Regions from separate parts of the Homo sapiens genome. Here regions 2 and 3 are each linked to region 1. Evidence: promoter capture Hi-C in 16 types of primary human blood cells and fetal thymus (Javierre and others, 2016). All regions are on one chromosome and are shown on one strand. The core of a region is centred on a gene start or on the middle of the fragment in contact, and the rest is flanking DNA. Distances in the headings are between cores, read along the strand shown. Region 1 holds the start of C1RL-AS1 (C1RL antisense RNA 1). Region 2 holds the start of IFFO1 (intermediate filament family orphan 1). Region 3 has its middle 23 kb from the start of APOBEC1.

Region 1 (3,065 bases), core at 336-2,835:
CCCACCAAAAAACAAAACAAAACAAAACAAAAAAACTCCATGTAACTATTGACTCCTAGGAAACCCAAAAGTTGGAGAAGAAAAGAAATATAATTATTTTATGCTATGTGCTCAGATGTGAATATTTTACAGTCATAATAATGTAAATAATGAATAAAGATTTAACTAAAAATGATAATATAGGTAAACTGGCAGAATGAGGAGGGGAAATGTGGGTGGTGAAGACTGAAGACAGATAAAGCTAGTCCTTATCTTCTATACTGTAGTTGAGCATTAATAGAAAATACGTAAAAATGAAAGACAAATAAGCATGTTATTTATACATATGAAGTTAAAGACCAGATGAAACAGCTACATGAATTGGCAAATGACTGCTCCTGAGGAGCAGCACTCAGGGGCGGGGAGGAACAGCTTGGAGACTGCTGTTATTCATAAACCTTTTTAAAAACCTTTTTTTTTTTTTGGAGACAGGGTCTCACTCTGTCACCCAGGCTGGAGTACGGTGTCATGATCAGAGCTCACTGCAGCCTCTACCTTCCAGGCTCAAGTGATCCTCTCACTTCAGCGTCCCTTGTAGCTGGGACCACAGGTGCGTGCCACCACACTTGGCTAATTTTTAAATTTTTTTGTAGAGATGGGGTCTTGCTATGTTGCCCAGGCTGGTCTCAAATTCCTGGGCTCAAGTGCTTCTTTCGCCTCAGCCTCCCAAAGTGCTGGGACTACAGACATGAGCTACTGCGCCCAGCCTTAGAAAACTTTAATTAAAAAACAAAAAGTCTTACAACTATTATGTATCCATAATAATTAAAAATTTTAAAATTAAAAAATAAAGTTCAAAAATTTATGTCATTTTGATATAAATAAAATTTAAATCAAAAGATAATGTGCTCTTTTTATTTTTATTTATTATTTACTTATTTTTGAGATGGGGTCTTGCTATGTTGCTTAGGCTGGCCTTGAACCCTGGGCTCCAGCCCTCTGATCCTCCAGCCTCAGTCTCCTGACTATACTGCTGGGACTGCAAGCTTGCATCACTCCATCAAGTACTGTTTTTAAAATGTCCTTATTCTGAATAAGGCTTTGGCGTTAGAAGTTTTGTAATAGCTCTTCCAAGGTAAGTGTGAACGGTGACTTAATCTTTTGTTATTATTTGTGTCCAGCTTCCTCACCTGATAGAGCAGGCACTCAACAAATACATGATGACATATTTTTAACAACCAATATGTGCGTCCCTGCCCCTGGCTCCATAGATTTGCAAGATTTGTGTGTCCATTCATAAGCCTTCCAAACGCAGGGCCTGCTTGCTGCCCTCTTTGCTCTGTGGGGCCCAGATGGCAGCCCCGGAGGCGCTGGTGGGAGGCTGTGTCCTGGGGTCCACCACTGCTCCCCGGTAAGCCAAGCCCGACTGCCCCTACATGGAAAATTCATCCCTCCTCCAGATGGGGGATTCAGGGCACCGCCACTTCCCACAACCCCGGGAATCTCCCTGGCCACAGTCCTGGCGGGACCCCCCCCATCCCCAGCTCACTGTGACAGAGTCCCCTGCACAGTCCTGGGACGGCTCCAGGTCGAAGTCCTGGAAGACGAGCCTCACAGCAAAGCCCTCTGGAGCCTTGATGTCCGTGCTGCTCTCTTGGCCTTTGCCATACGGCTCTGGGTACCCGGGGGATGTCAGCTGCTGGGGTAGCTCTTGGGCCAAGAGGACGGAGCCCCGGGTTGGGCAAGCCTGGAGGACTCCCCAGAGAAGCAGCCACCACCTGTGAGTTGGGGGGAGGGCAAGGTGGGGCCGCGCAGCTATGGCCGGAAGCCTGTGGGTGTGGGAGGAGCGGGGGAGCCGCGCTAGGACTCAGAGGCCTCGCGAGGCAGGGCTAGAAGCTGTGGCCTCACCCTTGAGGCCCGGGCACTTCCCGTCTCCTCCCTTGCTCCCCTTCCTCACCCCAATCCCTACAGCCTCCCGCGCAGCCTGAGCTCTAGGATTGTGGGTTTTCCATCCTCCGAAGACATCACCTTTGCTCATCTCCCAGGAGAGTCTCGTCCAAAGGAGGGGGGTGCTTTCTGCTTCAGCAGATCCCACCCCACCCTGGGATCCGAGGGAGCAATGGTGGGGCGAGTGAGGGTCTGCCGTAAATATCCCCCGACCACCCTCTGGGAAGGTGCTAGAGGCCACAGGCAAATTTCAGTCTCCCCATGGAATATCTGCTGTGCTGCTGCTGCTGCTGCTGCTGGTGTGTGTATGTGGGGGAGGTGTGTGTGTGTGTGTGTGTGTGGGGGGGGGGGGGATGTGTGTGTGGGGGGGGTAGGGTGGGGGGAGGGAGGGTTTGCGGCCACCCACCCTTTCTCTTCCCCTCCCGTCCTCTTCCCTCCTCCTCTGCCGGGGCCACACTCACATTGCGCCTGGACAGCCTTTGGAGTGAGGGCTTCTCCAGAGATATTTCCCCCACACTCTGGGTCCAGGCATCTGGAACTGGACATCTGGGACCTGCGAGAGAACTGGCCCAGGATAGGGAACAAAAGGTGAAGGCCGGTGGGGGAGGAGGAAGTTCCTGGAAATGTTAAGCAACTCCACAGTTCCCCTTCTCCAATTCTCCGGGCTGAGCGCCACCTGCCGTCTGACTCAGGAACAGCGGGCCCGCCGCAGCTTAGGGGAGAAACGTCCAAAAACCTCGCTGGCCCTCAGAGGTCAGGGTGGCAGGGCACTGACTCGACCCTTTTGTACTATTTAACATTAATTTTTGCCATGTGTGTAGGATGGCTCCTTGTGAGTTATGGCTGCTGCCTTCAATCAGCCATGTCTCTTCCTCCCCGACCTTTCCGTTCACGACATACCCGGGGAGCCTCCCTCTTGTAGAATTGAAGTTTGTGATCCTTGAACTTGAGCTTTCTCTTCCTTTCCCTCCTCCCCAAGCAGGGGTGGGGGACATGCGCTTAGGTGGTCTTTTGAATCCTATTCACAACCTCTGGAGGCTGCTTGTCCAGCATGGTCAGGGCTGGGGTCGAGCCCAGGTGTCCCTCAGTCCCTAGTCCCAGTCATCACTCAAGCCGTCACTCAAGCTTCTTTAGGCAGA
Region 2 (3,065 bases), core at 419-2,918, 550 kb before region 1:
CTCCTGTCCTATCGGCTTGGTTATCAGCCATCTAAGGAATCCACTTGGTATACAGCCAGCACTCCTGGCATCACATCCCTTTCCCTTGCCCCTTGGGGCCGGGCTCCTCTCAGACAGCCAAATCTTCATCCACAGAATGCACCGGGCCCGCCCCGCGGCCTCGCGGTCCTAGGGAGGGCCCATATCCCAGCTTCTCCCTGCTCAGTCCCCTGCTGGCTCTCCACTCTCCCTCCCCACTGGCGCTTTATACTGCCAAGATTCCCCTGTCAGCCCTGCTCTCCACCCTCACCCTAGTGAATTCCCTTCACTCTTTCTTTTCCCAGTTTGTTGACCTACTCAAGCAATGGCTTGAGGTCCCGGAGCTTTTCCTATGAAACCACAGCAGGTACCTGGTTTCCATCAATATTCTTTGGGAAACCTTGGGGTGTGAAAGAATCACTCGTTGCAAGGTACAGCCCCTCCCTCACCAGCCCCTTCCAGTTTCACTCAATTTAGTCTCCCAAATTTACGCTATATCCTTGCCTCCTACTTTTGAAGTTTATATCCCTAACCTGCCCCAGGGCTGAGACCGGTAGGGCAGAGCCCCAGTCCCTTTCACACCGCACAAAACCCGCAGTTAAGCCTGGATGGCAGAGACAAGCCGGAAAAGTAGGAATCCCCCCGTGTTCCGCTCCCAGCGTCCTTCTTCCTGTCACGAGCAGGGCTTCTGCATTCTCTGCGGATTCTAGTCTCCCTGCATCCAATTGCTTCCAAGCTCCTCATTACACAGCACAAACTTTACTCTCATTCTTTTCACCCCTGATTCTTCGGAACCCACACCAACTCGCGGCCCGTTGTGAGTGGTATGACACAGAGAGACCTGTCCCCCTTTCCCAATCCCTACCTCCGCTTGTACTCGTCCCGCTCCCGCTTCACTTTGGCCAGCACGTTGTAGAGAGCGCGGATCTCGGGCGTGATGGTGTCGATCTGGACGCCCACCCCATCCGGGTGCACCCACGACAAGCCAGGCCCTTGCACCAGAGTGGGCTCCAGTCCCGGCCCGAGCCGGCGGGCGTGCGAGAACGACCAGATGGTGCCGGGCATGAAGCGGGCCGACGAGGAATAGGTGGTGGAGGTGGAGGTGGAGGACGACGAGAGGCTGGCCGCGGAGGGCGCGAGGGGGCCGGCCGGGGAGCGCGCGGGCGAGCCCAGCACGCGCGCCGAAGGGCTGCAGACAGCGGCCGGCCGGGCGCCCAGCTGCAGCCCCAGGGGCCGGATGGGGCTGACGAAGCCGGTCTGCACTGCCTGGTCGCGACGACCCAGGCCCCGCCGGCCCTGCTTACCCTCCTCCAGCGCTTGCTGCAGTTGCTTCTCCAACAGCCGGTTCCGGCGCTCCAGCTCATGCACCTTGGCCAGGAAGCAGCGGAACCGGAGGTTCAGGGTCTTGAGCACGTTGATGTTGGAGCCCAGGTCATTGCGGAGGGCCATGGCGGCAGGCGGGGCCGGGCCCGGCCCGGGCGGCGAGTAGGCAGCAGGGCCGGCCGGCGAGAGAGGCGCCGGGGGCAAGTCTCCTCCCCCGGCGAAGTGGTCGCCTCCCAGTGAGTCCCCCAGTGGCCCGGCCAGGCCCTGCTGCTCCTGCTGCAGGAGGAAGAGGTTGGGGCCGAATAACGGATTCATGGCTGCGCCTTCTGCTGGGAGATGCAGACCGGTGCAGGAGCAGGGATGGAAGGCGAGCCAGAAGAGCCAATGCGGCGCCGGCGGGACAGAGCCGACCAATCAGGCGGCTCGGCAGCGGGGCAGAGGTCAGGGGGCGGGCCGAGGGGAAGCCAATGACAGGCTCCAATTGGAGGCCGGACCCTGGACCTTTCCGGGTCTGAGGCCGAGCCCTGTGATGAGGGGAGCCACCGCCTGGACTCCAGCCGGGGTGGCGTAAAGCCCAGGACCTCCAGTACCCCATGGGTTCTGGTGGCAAGCCCATCTCCCCTACACGACTTTTTTTTTTTTTGAGACCGAGTCTCACTGTCGCCCGGGCTGGAGTGCAGTGGCGCGATCTTGGCTCACTGCAACCTCAGCCTCCCAGGTTCAAGCGATTCTCCTGCTTCAGTCTCCCGAGTAGCTGGGATTACAGGCACCCGCCACCACACCCGGCTGATTTTTTGTATTTTTAGTAGAGACGAGGTTTCGCCATGTTAGCCAGGCTGGTCTCGAACACCTGACCTCAGGTGATCCACCCGCCTTGGCCTCCCAGAAAGTGCTGGGATTACAGGCATGAGCTAGTGTGCCCCGCCTTCCCCTACACTTCTATTGCCCTCCTCTCCCCGGAGTTCAATCACCCCTAGCTCTGACTCCAGGGCTTTCCCTTCCTGGGAAAACCCAAGGATGCAGGAGCCTAAAACTGACCTTATTTCTCAGTAGCACCCAACCATTCCCTCTCCTCAGAAGATCCCAGTCCCACCTCCCATCTTTACCCTTAAAGCGGCAAAGGCAGCACCCAGTTCCCTCAAAAATACTCAGTGGCCAGAGGTTTTAAAATGTGTATTAAATTTCATGGGTATGCACAGTAGAGAAGGCATCCTCACAGAGGCAAGAGTTCCAACCTGGTGACAATGGCAGTGAGCCACCCGTCTAGTTTTCAACCATCTAAGATAGCAGCAGCTGGCTGTTGCCCCTGGACTGAGATTTCTTCCTCTTTGCTGGTGGGGGGCGGCTGGAACGGATGGGAGACACAGTGGGAGGCTGAGGCCCCTTGGGGGTATCATTCTGTTTCTGGAAGGCAGCTTTCTCAAAAGGCTGCTCTGGCAACTGCTGCTTCTCAACCCCCTTGGCCCTTCCAAGGGGCTGATGATGGTCCTTAGGTTTCAGGGTGGCCTGAGTCTTGGATGGGGATAACACAGCCGGTGTTTGTGTGTCTGTGCCCTTGGGAGGGGCATTCTGCCTGAGGAAAGCAACTTTCTTGGAGGACTGTAATTTAGGTGATCGTTGCTTTAGCTTCCCAGTCACCTTTGGCTCCCTGATCCCTTCGGCTTTTCCAGCTGGCTGACTGCTATCCTGGAAGCTGGAGGAAGCTTGGGTCTTTGTGACAGAAG
Region 3 (3,065 bases), core at 412-2,911, 530 kb after region 1:
CTGAAACACTGAAACTTTCTTAGCCTCAGGACATTAAAGAGAAGAGCAACTCATTTTATTTTGCACAAGGGCATGGTATTTTTACTGAAACTTTGCAAGCAGTGTAAGATCAACCCAGCTCTTTTAGGAATCATATCAGGCACGCTCACTGAAAATAATTCCCCAAAATTAGAAAAGCAACTTCCAGAGGAGCCATCTGAAGATCCCCCTTCTTTGGGGGCCCCTTCAAGTTCCCTTCTCGTTACAGCCCCTTAGGCCTGTAATAAAGGGAGACTTAGCCAATTTTCTCACAACCCTGATAGGTATATAAAAGCTTTCCAGGCTGGGCGCAGTGGCTCACGCCTGTAATCCCAACACTTTGGGAGGCTGAGGCGGGCAGATCACGAGGTCAAGAGATTGAGACCATCCTGGTCAACATGGTGAAACCCCGTCTCTACTAAAAATACAAAAATTAGTTGGGCGTTGTGGCATGTGCCTGTAATCTCAGCTACTTGGGAGGCTGAGGCAGGAGAATCGCTTGCACCCAGGATGTGGAGGTTGCAGTGAGCCAAGATCACGGCACTGAACTCCAGCCTAGCAATAGAGTGAGACTCCGTCTCAAAAAAAAAGCTTTCCAAAATTTAACTCAGGTATTTCACCTCAGATGGAAGGATGTTATGTTGCTCCTAAGTCAGACCCTCACTGCAGCTGAAAAGCAGGCAGCTCTGATTTCAGAGATTAGCAACATATCTCCTATAATACACCAAAAGGGAAGAAAGCAGATAAGGAAAGAGAAGAAATAGCAGAAATGCCATTCCCAATTGGGAGGAAAGCAGTTTCCCTTGACAACCCTAATTGGGACCCCAATAACTCAGGAGATGAAAAGGAAGCTCTTTTTTAAGTGTGCATTAGAGGGCCTACGGAAAACCAGGGCCAAACCTCTCAATTACTCTAAACTGTCCATGATAAACAGCCAGATGAGAATCTTGTAGCCTTTATGGAAAGGCTGAGAGAGGCACTAACAGAACACCCCTCCTTATCCCCTGATTCAGTCGAGGGACAGCTCATCCTAAAGGACAAGTTTATTAGACAGGCAGCTGCCAATATTAAAAGGAAACTACACAAGCAAGCTATAGGACCAGATAGCACCTTAGAGAACTTCCTGAAAGTGGCCACTTTGGTCTTTTGTAATAGGAACCAGGAGGAGGCCCAAAAGAAAGAGACAATGGTCAGAAGGACAGAGACTCTAGCAGCAGCTTTGCAGGCTTGCAAAGTCCAGGATCCCGGAGGTGCATCTGCTAGTTGCTATCAGTGTGGCAGGCCAGAGCATGTTAAGAAAGAATGCCCATACAGCAAGACAAAGCCACCTCAACCCTCTCCAGCCTGTGGCAGAGACAACAGGAGATGGAACTGCCCCCAGAGGTGGAGGTCACTGGGTTCAGAACCAGTCTTACTGATGATCCAGCAGAACTGGATCCCGGGGCTCAAACTCCAGCTCCAGCGGCTCAAACTGCCATTACAGCACAGGAGCTCTGAGTGATTCTGGAAATTAAAAGAAGGAAAGTAGACCTCTTTCTAAACACTCAGCCAGTCTCTCTTTTTTCTCCTCTCTAATCCAGGCCTCCCCTCTTCCCATAGCACAACCAGAAGGGGCATCTCAGGAAAAACTCTACTCCAGTATTTTTCTCAACCTTAGTTGACACGTGCTTCCAAGCCATTATCATGACAGCTCGCTAATCAGAAAAGCCTCCAAGTTAACCCTAGGAAATAATTTAACTGTTTACACCCCACATAATGTGGCAGGATTACTGTCCTCTAGGGGGAGCTCTTAGCCAACAAACCGCCAGTAAAGCAAGAAGTACATAAGGCAGGATAAGCAGTAGTCACTCTAAATAACGTCTCTCCCCAGGCACAAGCGCTCAATTAGCTGAGCTAACAGCTTTTACAAGCACACTTGGATTAAGCAAGGGAAAGGTAGCTAACATTTATACTAACTCCAAGTATGCTTTCTTGGTTCTCCATGCTCATGCTGCCATTTGAAAGAAAAGACATTTTCGGCCAGGCGGTGGCTCACGCCTGTAATCCCAACACTTTGGGAGGCCAGACGGGCGGATCACGAGGTCAGGGGATCAAGACCATCCTGGCTAACATGGTGAAACCCCGTCTCTACTAAAAATACAAAAAATTAGCCAGGCGTGGTGGCAGGCGCCTGTAGTCCCACCTACCTGGGAGGCTGAGACACGAGAATGGCGTGAACCTGGGAGGTGGAGGTTGCAGTGAGCCGAGATCGCGCCACTGCAGTCCAGCCTGGGCGACGGAGCGAGACTTCGTCTCAAAAAGAAAGAAAGAAAGAAAAGACATTTTCTTACCATTAATAGATCCCCTATAAAAATATCACCAGGAAATTAGCAGGTTATCTTCAGTTTTTCTTCCACAAGAAATAGCAGGAATGCATTGTAAGGAACATCAAAAGGGAACAAATGAGGTAGCCAAAGGAAATAGGTTAGCTGATCAGGCAGTTAAGTCAGAGGCAAGGAAGCCTCAAGCCGTTAAGGCACTTAAGCCCCTTCTAATCTAGGAAGGCTCCATAAGAAAAATTAAACCTCAGTATTTCCCTGCAGAAATAAAATAGGCCACTTCTCGAGGACGTAGTTCCCAGCCCTCAGAAAGGCTACAGTCAGAGGATGGCAAACTCCATTTGCCAGCCTCCAGCCAATGTCCTTAAAATCCTTCACCAAGCTTTTCACTTGGGAAAGGATAAAACTTATCAGTGTGCTCAGAGATTGTTTTCAGGCAGGAAACCTCTAAATTGGTTAAGCATGTAACCTCTCTAGCTCACTTCCAACAAGAATTAACGCAACTAACAGAAGTCCAACCCCAGGAAACAGAACCACCTTTATTTAACCCAGGAAATTTGGTGTTAGTGAAAACCCTCATCTCTGTCTCCTTCCCTAAGCCAAGCTGGGAAAGGCCCTACACTGTTCTTCTTTCAACACCATTGGCAGTAAAAGTTACAGGAATCAACTCCTGACTTCCACATTCAAGTCAAAGCCTGAACAGCTGAGGGATCAACCTCTGACAGCCCA

The links. Contacts are between HindIII fragments. The CHiCAGO score rates a contact against its expected background, and 5 or more counts as called.
Region 2: a contact is called between the fragment with the promoter of IFFO1 here and the fragment with the promoter of C1RL-AS1 in region 1, in 9 of 17 cell types (activated CD4 T cells, non-activated CD4 T cells, naive CD4 T cells and 6 more). The highest score is 22.9, in activated CD4 T cells.
Region 3: a contact is called between a fragment that was not itself captured here and the fragment with the promoter of C1RL-AS1 in region 1, in 1 of 17 cell types (fetal thymus). The highest score is 5.7, in fetal thymus.

What each region holds. Positions count from the first base shown.
Region 1 is chr12:7,106,723-7,109,787 of GRCh38, forward strand. It overlaps C1RL-AS1 (C1RL antisense RNA 1), which reads left to right and starts at 1,586. Exons shown (of 12, transcript NR_026947.1): 1 at 1,586-1,759; 2 at 1,951-2,225. It overlaps C1RL (complement C1r subcomponent like), which reads right to left and starts at 2,492. Exons shown (of 6, transcript NM_016546.4): 1 at 2,388-2,492; 2 at 1,529-1,757. The coding sequence starts at 2,458. RefSeq lists enhancers at 1,512-2,711, 1,544-1,713, 2,354-2,433. The HindIII fragment of the contact is 2,026 bases long and covers 1,024-3,049 here.
Region 2 is chr12:6,554,374-6,557,438 of GRCh38, forward strand. IFFO1 (intermediate filament family orphan 1) reads right to left here and starts at 1,669. Exons shown (of 10, transcript NM_001193457.2): 1 at 884-1,669. The coding sequence starts at 1,656. NOP2 (NOP2 nucleolar protein) reads right to left here. Exons shown (of 16, transcript NM_001258308.2): 16 at 2,498-3,065. The coding sequence ends at 2,620. RefSeq lists enhancers at 1-145, 146-646 and silencers at 1,107-1,286, 1,397-1,636, 1,687-1,846. The HindIII fragment of the contact is 7,963 bases long and covers 1-3,042 here.
Region 3 is chr12:7,641,247-7,644,311 of GRCh38, forward strand. No RefSeq gene overlaps it. Among named protein-coding and RNA genes, the nearest start is that of APOBEC1, 23 kb to the right of the region's middle. The HindIII fragment of the contact is 2,109 bases long and covers 608-2,716 here.